2 separate regions of the Homo sapiens genome follow, and region 2 is linked to region 1. Evidence: promoter capture Hi-C in 16 types of primary human blood cells and fetal thymus (Javierre and others, 2016). All regions are on one chromosome and are shown on one strand. Each heading gives the region's core, a stretch centred on a gene start or on the middle of the fragment in contact. The rest is flanking DNA. Distances are from core to core; before and after follow the strand shown.

What was found. The method cuts DNA at HindIII sites, captures the fragments that hold promoters and counts their contacts. A CHiCAGO score of 5 or more calls a contact.
Region 2: a contact is called between a fragment that was not itself captured here and the fragment with the promoter of ALDH4A1 in region 1, in 3 of 17 cell types (fetal thymus, endothelial precursors and erythroblasts). The highest score is 6.3, in fetal thymus.

What each region holds. Positions count from the first base shown.
Region 1 is chr1:18,899,726-18,905,025 of GRCh38, reverse strand. ALDH4A1 (aldehyde dehydrogenase 4 family member A1) reads left to right here and starts at 2,471. Exons shown (of 15, transcript NM_003748.4): 1 at 2,471-2,564. The coding sequence starts at 2,503. LOC124903866 (a long non-coding RNA gene) reads right to left here and starts at 2,913. Exons shown (of 2, transcript XR_007065519.1): 1 at 2,774-2,913; 2 at 1,655-2,216. IFFO2 (intermediate filament family orphan 2) reads left to right here. Exons shown (of 9, transcript NM_001136265.2): 9 at 1-746. RefSeq lists enhancers at 1,418-2,235, 2,175-2,404 and a silencer at 2,485-2,704. The HindIII fragment of the contact is 9,883 bases long and covers 2,175-5,300 here.
Region 2 is chr1:17,438,050-17,443,349 of GRCh38, reverse strand. RCC2 (regulator of chromosome condensation 2) reads left to right here and starts at 3,673. Exons shown (of 13, transcript NM_018715.4): 1 at 3,673-3,805; 2 at 4,828-5,120. The coding sequence starts at 4,836. It overlaps LOC124903862 (a long non-coding RNA gene), which reads left to right and starts at 1,807. Exons shown (of 2, transcript XR_007065508.1): 1 at 1,807-1,892; 2 at 2,297-3,214. RefSeq lists silencers at 3,434-3,573, 4,893-4,992. The HindIII fragment of the contact is 440 bases long and covers 2,449-2,888 here.

The sequences.
Region 1 (5,300 bases), core at 1,222-3,721:
CAGTTGCGTTGGGAGAGGGTTGGGAGGCAGCAGAGCATGGGTGACAGTGGGAGCACACGACTTCCTTGGAGCCTGGGCCTTTGCGGGTCCCAGGTGGTCAGGCAGCTGGAGCAGAAGTGGAAATGGCTTAAGATGCTCATAGCCCAGCCCCGGCTGTGTCTACTCCAGGCCAAGCCTGGGCTGCAGTCCTTGCTATGTTCCCCCCAGGGCCCTGGGGGGAGGGATCAGGGTGCTGGGGGTTTCCTAGGACAGGGGTCTTCCCCCTTGAGACACCAAGCTCTGGCTCTAGAAGAGCTCTCTCCTGGAGTGGGGAGTCTGGAGGGGACTGGGTGGGTGCAGGTAAAGCCAGATTCTCTCTGGAAGGGAATTTTCTATGAATGGATGATTTCCAGGCTCAGGGTGGGCTGTGTGTTAGTTCTGAGCAAATCCCTCACCAAGACCCTTCCCTCCCAAGCCCTCAAAGAAATGAGGCAAAGCCCTTCCCTGCAAGACCCCTTGTGGATGTTTTTGCATCTACCTGATTTTTAGCCCCACCCAGGGAGACTTTATACCCCATGATCCTGCCCCACCGTTGCTGTTGTCTGCCAGCTGGGTCTAGCATCACAGGGAAGGGGGGGATTTATACTCATGGAAAGACTACTGATCCTACCGGAAACCAACCTGTTTACTGTACTGTTGTAAATATCATGCCCTTTATATCCTGTATATTGGCTTCTTTTAAATAAAGTGAAATGTCTTAGAACTGATGGTGCTTTTTTTTGTTTTTGTTTTTAAACAGAAGATGAATCTGGTGTTGGGGGAGGGGTAGGAGGACGGAAGGCCACAGAAACCCTCAAACTCATTAGTTAATTAGCCATAAAATAGGGGATTTCATATCACCTGTTACATTTGTAGCTCACAATAAAAGCTTTGGAAGATGACAAAGCAGGAATCATTACACACATTTTACTGAAGGGGAAGAGAGGACATGAGACATCACAGGCTCAGTAACTGGCTTGGCCTGGTTTGGAACTGATGTCCTTTTAACCACAAAGCCCCCATTTTTCCAGGCTCTCCAACGTGCCCACAGGAGGTCACCTTCCCAGGCTCTGGATTTGACAGTAACCAATGTTCTAGTTTTTCTTGTCAATGGGCATGTTCAGGGCAACATTGCCCAAATGTGAACTGAGCCCACCTGTCTAGGGTTTTCTCCAAAGGTGAAGACAAATAGCCGCCACCAATTCCAATTTGCTTTTTGCCATTCCTAATACTTGGCATTTAGGTAATCTCCCTCTCCTACTCTTCATTTAAATGTTTACATTCTCCCAAAGTACCTCAAATGGTGTAATCTGGAGAAAAATAAGTGGCTTAAGATCACGGGGGCTTTGTGAGTTGGGTACTATTACTTCCGTTTTACAGATGAGGAAACTGAGGCCCGGAAAGGATATGTAGTCTGCCTAGTGCCCTGCTTGAGGAACCAAAATCAGCATGGGAACTGACTCCTAAGCAGGTGCGCGGTTCATGCTGCTGGAAGAAATATAAACAAATTAGAACAGAGAGTAAGGAAACGTAACATTACTTTAGGAATAGATTGGGTCCCTGAGACCTCGTCATCAGAGAAGACTTCAGAATCCAAGTTTTAAATAGCATTCTAGTGTTTACCAAGCACACAACATTTTGCAAAGAAAGCTGAAATTTTTACTTGGGGGTAAAAGGCTCAGGAACAACTGGTTTTGCGGCCAAAGGCTTTAAATGAAAAGCTAAGCGTTGGCCAGCTCAGGTTTTATCTTGCATTGATCGTAATCTGCAAGGAAGCTAAGAAGCTGGCCGGCCCCGCGCCTGGAGGGTAGGTGGAGAGCGGCTGGGTCCTGGCCAAGAAGCTGGAAGGCAGGCTCATTCCAGGGGCCGCAGCCCCCGGGAAGAAGCAGGGGGCTGGCCGCGCTGTGGCCCTGCGGGGTCGAGGAGTCTGGTAGCGGACAGGTTTCCAGCCTTGTACAAGCCACCGGCAGCCCGAGAGAAGTCAGTCGGACTCCCATCGAACCCGGGGCGCACGCCAGAGGGCCGGACGCAGCGAGTCCTTCTGCCCCGCTTCAGCACGTGTCCCATTTCGGTTATCTCATTGGCTCTATTCAGCCCCTCTCTGCTCCGCTTTGGAAGGCTGCCGCAGGACCGCCCCGCTGATTGGTTCAGAAGCTTTGGTGTGTCACTCTGACTGGTCGACAGAGTTCACGCCCTCTCTCCCGGGTCATACCATAAAGAGAGGAGGGGAAAACGCATGCATTTCAGGACTTCGCTTTCGGGTTCCCTTGTCCTGTGTTGTGTAATGCCCCCGTTATGGCACTAGAAATATTTTTTATTAGCCGAAGCTAAATATAGTGGGACTTTGGCTGATCCCGAGCTCGGAGGACAGCCGGGGTGATCCGTTTCCCCCCGAGGATCGAGGTGGTGCGCTCTGGACGGGGTTGTGCATTCTCGCCGCGCCCGGGCGGACGATCCAGCGAACAGCCCCGCTTCTAACCCGAGATGCTGCTGCCGGCGCCCGCGCTCCGCCGCGCCCTGCTGTCCCGCCCCTGGACCGGGGCCGGGTGAGTGAGCACGGGGCCCGGGGCGGCCCGAGCGCGCGCCTGGGGCCCGGGAGCCTGAGAGTCACTGGGCGTCCCCCGCGCCGCACTCCCTCCCTGCCGGACCCCCAAGCTGCCTCGGTCAACGCCGGGTTCCTCAGGGGCTCCCCTCCGACCCCCACCCAGGCCTTTCTCCCACTGAGATCCCTTAGCCTCCTCCCTCAGGTAGTCACCTTCCTTTAGCGAGGGGACCCCTCTTCCCGAATCCTGCGACCGAGTAGGGTGCCTCGGTGGCCCTGCCGGTTCCCACGCTCGGAAAGTAGCCTCTGTAGTCACTCACCTCACTCCTAATACTGGATCTTCGCAATTTGCTGGCTTCCCCTGAGGGGCCCTTCTATTTTTAGCACACCACACATCTCACTTCCCCACCCTCGTCTCACGTTCAGTGTCCCCATCCCGCCCCGGATTCCCCGAGTCCTCTCCTTCTACCAGGATTTCTACCTCTCTCTTTTCCGCTCCCCACACACCCCGCCGCCCGTTTTTTTTTTTTTTTTTCAAGTTAAATGTTGGACAGAAAAAAGGATTCCTTTCTTCTTGTAGGTGGAATAATCATATTTATAGAGTGCTTATAATGAACCAAATGCTGGCCGGGCAATTGGCAGGTGTCTTATGAGGATTAAATGAGTTAATACATGGGGAGTGCACTGAACAGTGCCCAGCACAAAGGCAGCGCCCGGTTATTATTATTGCCACGATCATCATCATTATCACCTCTATTTAAACTTCTCACTCCTGTGAGGCAGGTCATTATTCCAAATAATGAAGAAACCCAGGAGCAGTTCAGGGGTGGACCTGCCCTTCAAATCCCGATTTGCAAACCTGACATTGTGGAGCCAGGTGCCTGGACCCTTGCCCACTCAATGACAAATATTCTCAGAGCCCCTCCAGCTCGGAGCTAGGTTTGGAGAGGTAGGTGGGACACAGACCCTGCCCCAGAGGGGTTCCTAGTCTGGTGGGGCTGCCCACCTGTGGATCAGCCCCCCCTCCCATTTGAGGTTTGTTTGCTTGACCCCTGGGGCTGTTAGTGGCAGTGTCTTTCCTGATGAGCTGTGCCCTTTCTGAGTTAATCAGTGGCCCTCTCCCTTCCCCCAAGGGATGGCATGGTGGTGCTCTGAGCACAAGTGAGTTGCAACACTGCTGTGTGTCCTCTGTGGGTGAAGAGGGGATAGGAAAGGGCGCAGGAAGAGGACATGGGACAGAGGGGTTCCTCTTCTAGGCTGAGACTGGGGCCACACTTGCCATACTCCCTGTGTGATCCCGTTTGCAGGCCTTCCCTGCACTCTGAGACTCAGGAAGATGGAGCTTATAGAGTCCTGTGTTTACTGAGTGCCTACTGTGAGCTGGTGCTCTGCCAAACACCCTAGAGATGAGGGGTACCCAGGGAATTTACATGGGGTGGGGCCTTTGAGGAGTTTTCGGCTTAATAGGGGAGAAATGCATAGGAAAACCCTCCAATATCTAGTAGAAAGCAATCCATATTCTAAAAGATAAGCCCATGATAACAATAATGATTATCAAGCAATCAAGCACCATGGGCCTAACACCGAGCCGGTAAGTACTGTCTCATTCCTGTATTATCATGGGAAACGATCTGCCATCAGAGATATATGACTGAAATTACATTTGGTCTAAATCCAGATTTATGCTCTGAATTATGAGGCCTCCTGAATTGAGAGGGGAAAGAGAAAGAGCATTTTGCAGCTGGTTCCCTGGGCTCAAGTTACCCCTTTGATACAGCAGCTGGCCGCATGCCCTAGACAGGATTTCTCAACCTCACCACTATTCGCATTTGGGGCTACATTTTGGTTGCTGTGGAGTCTGTCCTGTGCACTGTAGAATGTTTAGCAGCGTCTCTGGCCTTTACCCGCTGCATGTCAGGGGCACCCCCGGCCCTGACAATTACGAAAAAAACCCTGGCCCTGACAGGAAACACAAGTTCCCAGACATTGTCAGATGTTACCTGGGGGACAAAAGTCACCTCCGGTTGAGAGCCAGTGCTCTAGAGGAACAGCTTTGATGTTTGATCACTTGTTCATTTACTCAGTGAACATTTAGAGCACACCCGTGACATGCCATGTCTGCATTTATGGAGAAACAGTCGCAGGGCATTTTCAGTGACATCCCTCAGTGTCCTACGTGTAAAACTCTAGTCCTGAGAAAAACCGCTGCTTTTGAGGAACGGGTATAGGAGATGCTTCTTAGTGTTTTCTTTTTTGCCTTGAGTGCCAGGAATCTCTGCTAGTTTTAAAAAATACCCTTGATACATGTTTTCTTTTAGTTTAATACATGTCAACTGTGAAAAGTACAGATAAGGCAAAAAAATAGAAAAATCACCTGGAATTGTACCACACAGAGGTACCCACTGTTAACATTTTGATTCATGTCCTTTAACTTTCCATGAATAGATATGCTTTTAAAAAAAACCTCATAGAAACAAGCTCATCTGCCCATACTTTATTGTAGCTTGTTTTTTCCCTTTATACACTTGTCTGCCTTACAGTATGTTCCCAGGCCCTGGAACTGTGTCTGGCACCTGGTAAGCCCTTGGCAAACATTTAGGGAATGAATGAACTAATCATGTGAGCCCTTCCTTGTCAATCGATATTTATCACGGCCAGCCTCAGGACAATCACCATAAAGTGTGGCCTTTATAGGTGGGCCCAGGGATGGCAGCTGGTGACAATGACTGCCATTTACTTT
Region 2 (5,300 bases), core at 1,419-3,918, 1.5 Mb after region 1:
AATTACTGGTTTTCCAGCTATGCTTTCGAAGGCTGTGATGTCCAACAGGAATAACATATGAGCTACAAAAAACTTAATATGTAATATTAAATTTTGTGGTAGTCACATTGAAAAGAGTAAAAAGAAGCCAGGCACAGTGACACATGCCTATAATCCTAGCACTGTGGGAGGCCAAGGCAAAAGGATTGCTTGAGGTCAGGAGTTTGAGACCAGCCTGGGGAACATAGTGAGACCTTGTCTCCACAAAAAAATTTTAAAAATTAGCTGGGCGTGGAGGTGCACGTCTACAGTCTCAGCTACTAGGGTGGCTGAGGCAGGAGAACTGTTTGACCCCAGGAGGTCGAGGCTGTAGTGAGCCAAGATGGCGCCACTACAGTCCAGCCTAGGTGACAGAGTGAGACCCAGTTTCCAAAAAAAAAAAAAGAGAAAGAATCGTTTCCATTGGTTAGCGCATCACTCCCAGGATCACTGGTTTCATTTTTATAGACACTGGATCAGAAAATTAATCTTTCAAGTACAGGTGTAGCTTTCTGTAGCCAAGTTGAATAGAATTACACTTCTGAGGCTGGGCACAGTGGCTCACGCCTGTAATCCTAGCACTTTGGGAGGCGAAGGCGGGCAAATCACGAGGTCAGAAGTTCAAGACCAGCCTGGCCAACATGGTGAAACCCCGTCTCTACTAAAAATACAAAATTAGCTAGGCGTGGTGGTATGCGCCTGTAATCCCAGCTACTTGGGAGGCTGAGGCAGGAGACTGCTTGAACCTGGGAGGTGGAGGTTGCCACCACTGCACTCCAGCCCGGGTGACAGTGCGAGACCCCACCTCAAAAGAAAAAAAAAAATGAATTATACTTCTGAGGCTGTGCACAGTGGCTCACCCCTATAATCCCGCAACTTTGGGAGGCTGAGGTGGGAGGACCACTCGAGACCAGCCTGGGCAACAGAGAGAGACCTTGTCTCTACAAAACATTAAAAAAGAAAAAAAATTTAGCCAAGTGTAGCTGTCCATGCCTGTGGTCTCAGCTACTTGGGAGGCTGAAGCGAGAGGATCGCTTGAGCAAGGAAGGTAGAGGCTGCAGTAAGCTGGGATCATACCATCACCCTTCAGCCTGGGTGCTGGAGGAGCAAGATTCTATCTAAAAAAATAAAAAAAAAAAAAAAAAAAAGAAAGAAAAAATCACACCTCACCCCTGGAAAAGAACTTAAGCGTAGCTGAATCTAACTTGCAATATGATTTTGCTGAAGATGAGGTTAAAGAGTGACGGCAGGCTGGCACTTGCAGCCACATTTCCAAAATTCTGGGTGTAAAATGCTCAGCACAGTGCCAGACACCTGTGCCTCAAAGTGTCAGAGAAATCTCAGCCACCTTCTTTCCCTTCCCCTCTCCCGGTTTTGCACCAAACCATCCTGTCCCTGGAGAATTTGCTCAATTAGAAGCGAGGTGAAATTCCAAGCACAGTTTGAAGGAGGAAGTGTCATTTTCAGCTTGCCTGTAGGTGCACCTCACTATGTAACATTTGTTACATAAGTGGCAGCATGACACGCCTAACTGATGAATGTCTGTTGCACACCCAATTCCAGCCGGGAGAGTCACGCAGGCTTTCCCTGGGAGAATAGTGGTGTGGAATTGAGGCATGGAGTTGCAAAAATTACTTTTGTCTTCTGACAAGTAGGGCCAGTTCCAGGGTGTTATACCCAAAGTGCTTTTCTACTGCAGCATAACCTCAAGAAAAACCAGTTTCAGGAGCACCACACCTAGGATCAGATGATGCAATATGATATTAGCGTCTCATTGCATCAGTGTGTCTGAGGCATGAGTCTTTTAAGCTGGCAAAAAGCATTATAAAGGGGCAGGAGAAAAAAGGAAAAGACTTGCAGACTGAAATCTAAAGGTACTGTCAGTGGTGTTCCTAATTGGCCACACAGGGTGTTTAGAGGATAAACACCCAGCCACCCGCCTCGGCTGACAAGCATCAGCATGCCATTTCCTGAAGGGGACTTGATGGCATATTTAGGCGAAATTCTTTTCTGGTTGGTTCTACTTATGCTTTATATCAAAGCGTCAAAGTTTAACCTCTAAAAAATCTTTTTAAATGCAGGTCTATTAAGAATAGGCTTTCAAAGGGTGCTTCTATTCCATCTTGACTTTTCTGAAAATCTCTGAAACGTACCAGTTGATTTCTCATTTCCAAAGTTCTTTTACATAAGCACTCTCAGCTCTCTTGACACACAGACTTTTGACTTTGATCAAATACCTTAGATTTGGGCCTCTTGGTTTCTCTGTCTTCCTTTACAGGACACTTGATGCTTCCCAGTCCTGTTTCTTGCACTAACAATGAATGAATGAATCACAAAAATCCTAGAACTTTATGCGTTTTCAAGAAGTTGCCTGAAGAAGGAACTTCCTTGTGCGGTACGCCTCAGGAAAAAAGAAGCAGGAGAAAAGCTTTGAGAGGAGAGCAAGTGACGGTGAGATCGTAATGGAAGTGGGGTGGAGAGGTGGAGGGTGGAGACCGGTAGGAAGCAAGCAAGGCTTTTTTCACCCGTCCCAGGACACGCGAACGAGATCAAGCCTCACTGCGGTTCACTAGGGTCTATGCAGGCCCTCGCACCCCTGCCTACCTCCTCAGAACCCAGCCTCTTGGCTCTTCTCACCCCAGCCCCACCAGACAGCTTCCCTCCCAGGAGGTGTCTCTCAAGATCTCGAAATGTGGAGCGTCCCGTTCACTCCACCTGGCCTGGAATACTTTTCCTGCCCCCTTTCATCGGGTCTTATTCATCCTTTAAGTTGTTCAGCATAACTTTCCACCTGAATGCCTTCCCTGGCCCTGGACTAGGATAAATCCCCTCGCCATAATGTTCCTACACAGGCATCACTTTGTAAAGCTTACCACTGTTGTAATTACTTGTTTACTGATCTGTCTTTCCGTTAGGCTGTGCGTTCCACTGGGGTGGAAACCTTGTTCACTGGCTCTGCAGCCCCGGGCACTGTGGGTCTTGCATGTACCGGGGGCTCAGTAAATATTTGGCAAAAAATGAAAAAGTTCCCCTCAAAGCCAGCTTCCAGTGCCTCCACGGCCCTCAAATTAATTATGAATTAATTCACTAATACAGCAAACCTTTATGTGATTCTTCCGTGTCACAGCACCTTGTTACATACTGAGGACACATCCACAGGCAAATAAAACTCAGCTTCTCTCTGCACAGGAAAAAATTATTCAAATTGTATTCATCTTTCATTCCAATCACTCAATTAGGGCACGTCCCTTGTTGGCTGCTGCGTGAGCGAAGTAACTATTTTCCAGCGAGTGTCCTCATGTGACCTGTCTAGACGTGCCCAGGAAAAACAATCCAACATCCTCCTAAGCCGCAAAGAAGTCCCTGACGCGCAGGCCGCACTGCGTGGAAGGCCCAAAGCGCGCTCGCGGGCCCGCGAAAGGCGCAGGAGCAGCGGAGCCGAGGCGGGCGGCGAGGCGCGCGGCGCGCGGCGCAGGCTCGGGTGGGCAGGGCAGGGCCAGGCCGGGCGGGGCGGGGGCGCCGGCAACGGGTCCGCCGGCCGGCAGGGGGCGCGCGCGCCCCGCGCCCCGCGCCTCCCGCCCCGCCGCGCGCTCGCTTGCCGCGCGGCCGCACATGTGTTTCTGTTTTGTGTTGTAGCATTTGTTCTGGAAGCTCGTATTTACATTTTAAGTGTATCTGGTGAGTGGGCTGGAGCCCTCGTCTGGGCCGGAAAAAAAAAAGCCCTCCGATCCGTCTTTTAGTTGCTTCTCTTCCTTTTTTCTCTCCGGTTTCTCATCACTCCAACCAGGTAGGGTCTGAAAATCGACAGTGATCAGTTTGTGGGGTCTGGGAAAGTTTTTTTTTTTTTCCTTTTTTTAAAGAGAAAAGGTTAAAAAAAAACCTGGGGGAGGGGGGCTGGGTGATTGAAGGAATAAAAAGAGGAAGGAAGGCGGATCCACGTGGTTTAATCGGAGACAGACAGAGATCCCATTGTTCAAAATCAATTAAAAAAAAAAAAAAAAGCAGACAGGGGAGAGCGCAGGGACGCCGGGGAGCTGGCGGCGGCCCTGGACACTTTGCAGTCGAATCGGAGACCGGCCGGGCCGCACGGCCGGCAAGGGGGCTGGGAGAGAGTTGGGCACCATTAAAGTTTTTATTTTTCGTGTCTGTGCGAGCAGGTGTTTGGGGCTGGGGTCCAGCTTTCTTCGGGCTCTTCCCCCGTCGCCGGGGGCAGTCCGCCGTAGGGATTCGGCTAACTAGAGCCCGAGGTCGGCACCCCTGAGCTGGGGCCGAACGGGGGTCCAGGGCTGATGCGGGGTGGGGGAGAGCGTTGCATTAAATGCCATGAGTGGGTTTGGGGGGAGACTGCGGAGACAAAAGCAGCAGGTGGGGTAGCCGGGGAGCAGGGGCTCCCTTACCACCCAGGTGCCAAGGGGGAATCCTGGAAGTGTCCCGAAGCCTTCTTTAATGAAAATCTAGGGGACTGGAGGCTGGTTTTACTTTCCCTTTACTTTTGGGGGGCGAGGTTGCAACTGTGATGCTTTGTGGGCAAACCTAACTTACGGATAGGCCGGGGGTCTCAATTCTCCCTCCAGGGGATTGCCTCTGGGGCTCCCGGCTGCCCTGCGGGATTCCCCGAAGGAGCCGCGCCGGGGCCAGGGAGGGGCGCGATTTCCTCTCCCAACTCGCCCCCTCTCCGCCCACCCTGCGGCCGCCACTTTGGGGAGGGCAGAGGAGGAAGTGGAGGCCGGGTGGCTCGTCTCCGCTCCCCTCCCCCCGCGCAGTTTATAACCCGTCCATTGTGCGCCGCTGCCCCGTGTCTCCCTCCAGCCGCGACCATGCCCAGGAAGAAGGCGGCGGCGGCGGCCTGGGAGGAGCCGAGCTCGGGCAACGGCACTGCCCGCGCCGGGCCCAGGAAACGCGGCGGCCCGGCGGGCAGGAAGCGCGAGCGGCCCGAGCGCTGCAGTAGCAGCAGCGGCGGCGGCAGCAGCGGCGACGAGGACGGCCTGGAGCTCGACGGGGCCCCCGGCGGGGGCAAGCGCGCGGCGCGGCCGGCGACAGCAGGCAAGGCGGGCGGCGCGGCCGTGGTCATCACCGAACCCGAGCACACCAAGGAGCGCGTCGTGAGTGAGGGTCAGGGTAGACGGGTGGGCGCAGGGCCGGGGCCGGCGGGCTCAGCGACGCGGCACGGCGCGCGTTCCAGCCGGGGGCCGCCTCGCGTCACGCTCCCTCCCGGCGGCCGGGCCGGCGCAGGCCGCGGGCTGAATCATTGCCTCCGCCTCCGCGCAACAAAAGGGCTCGGT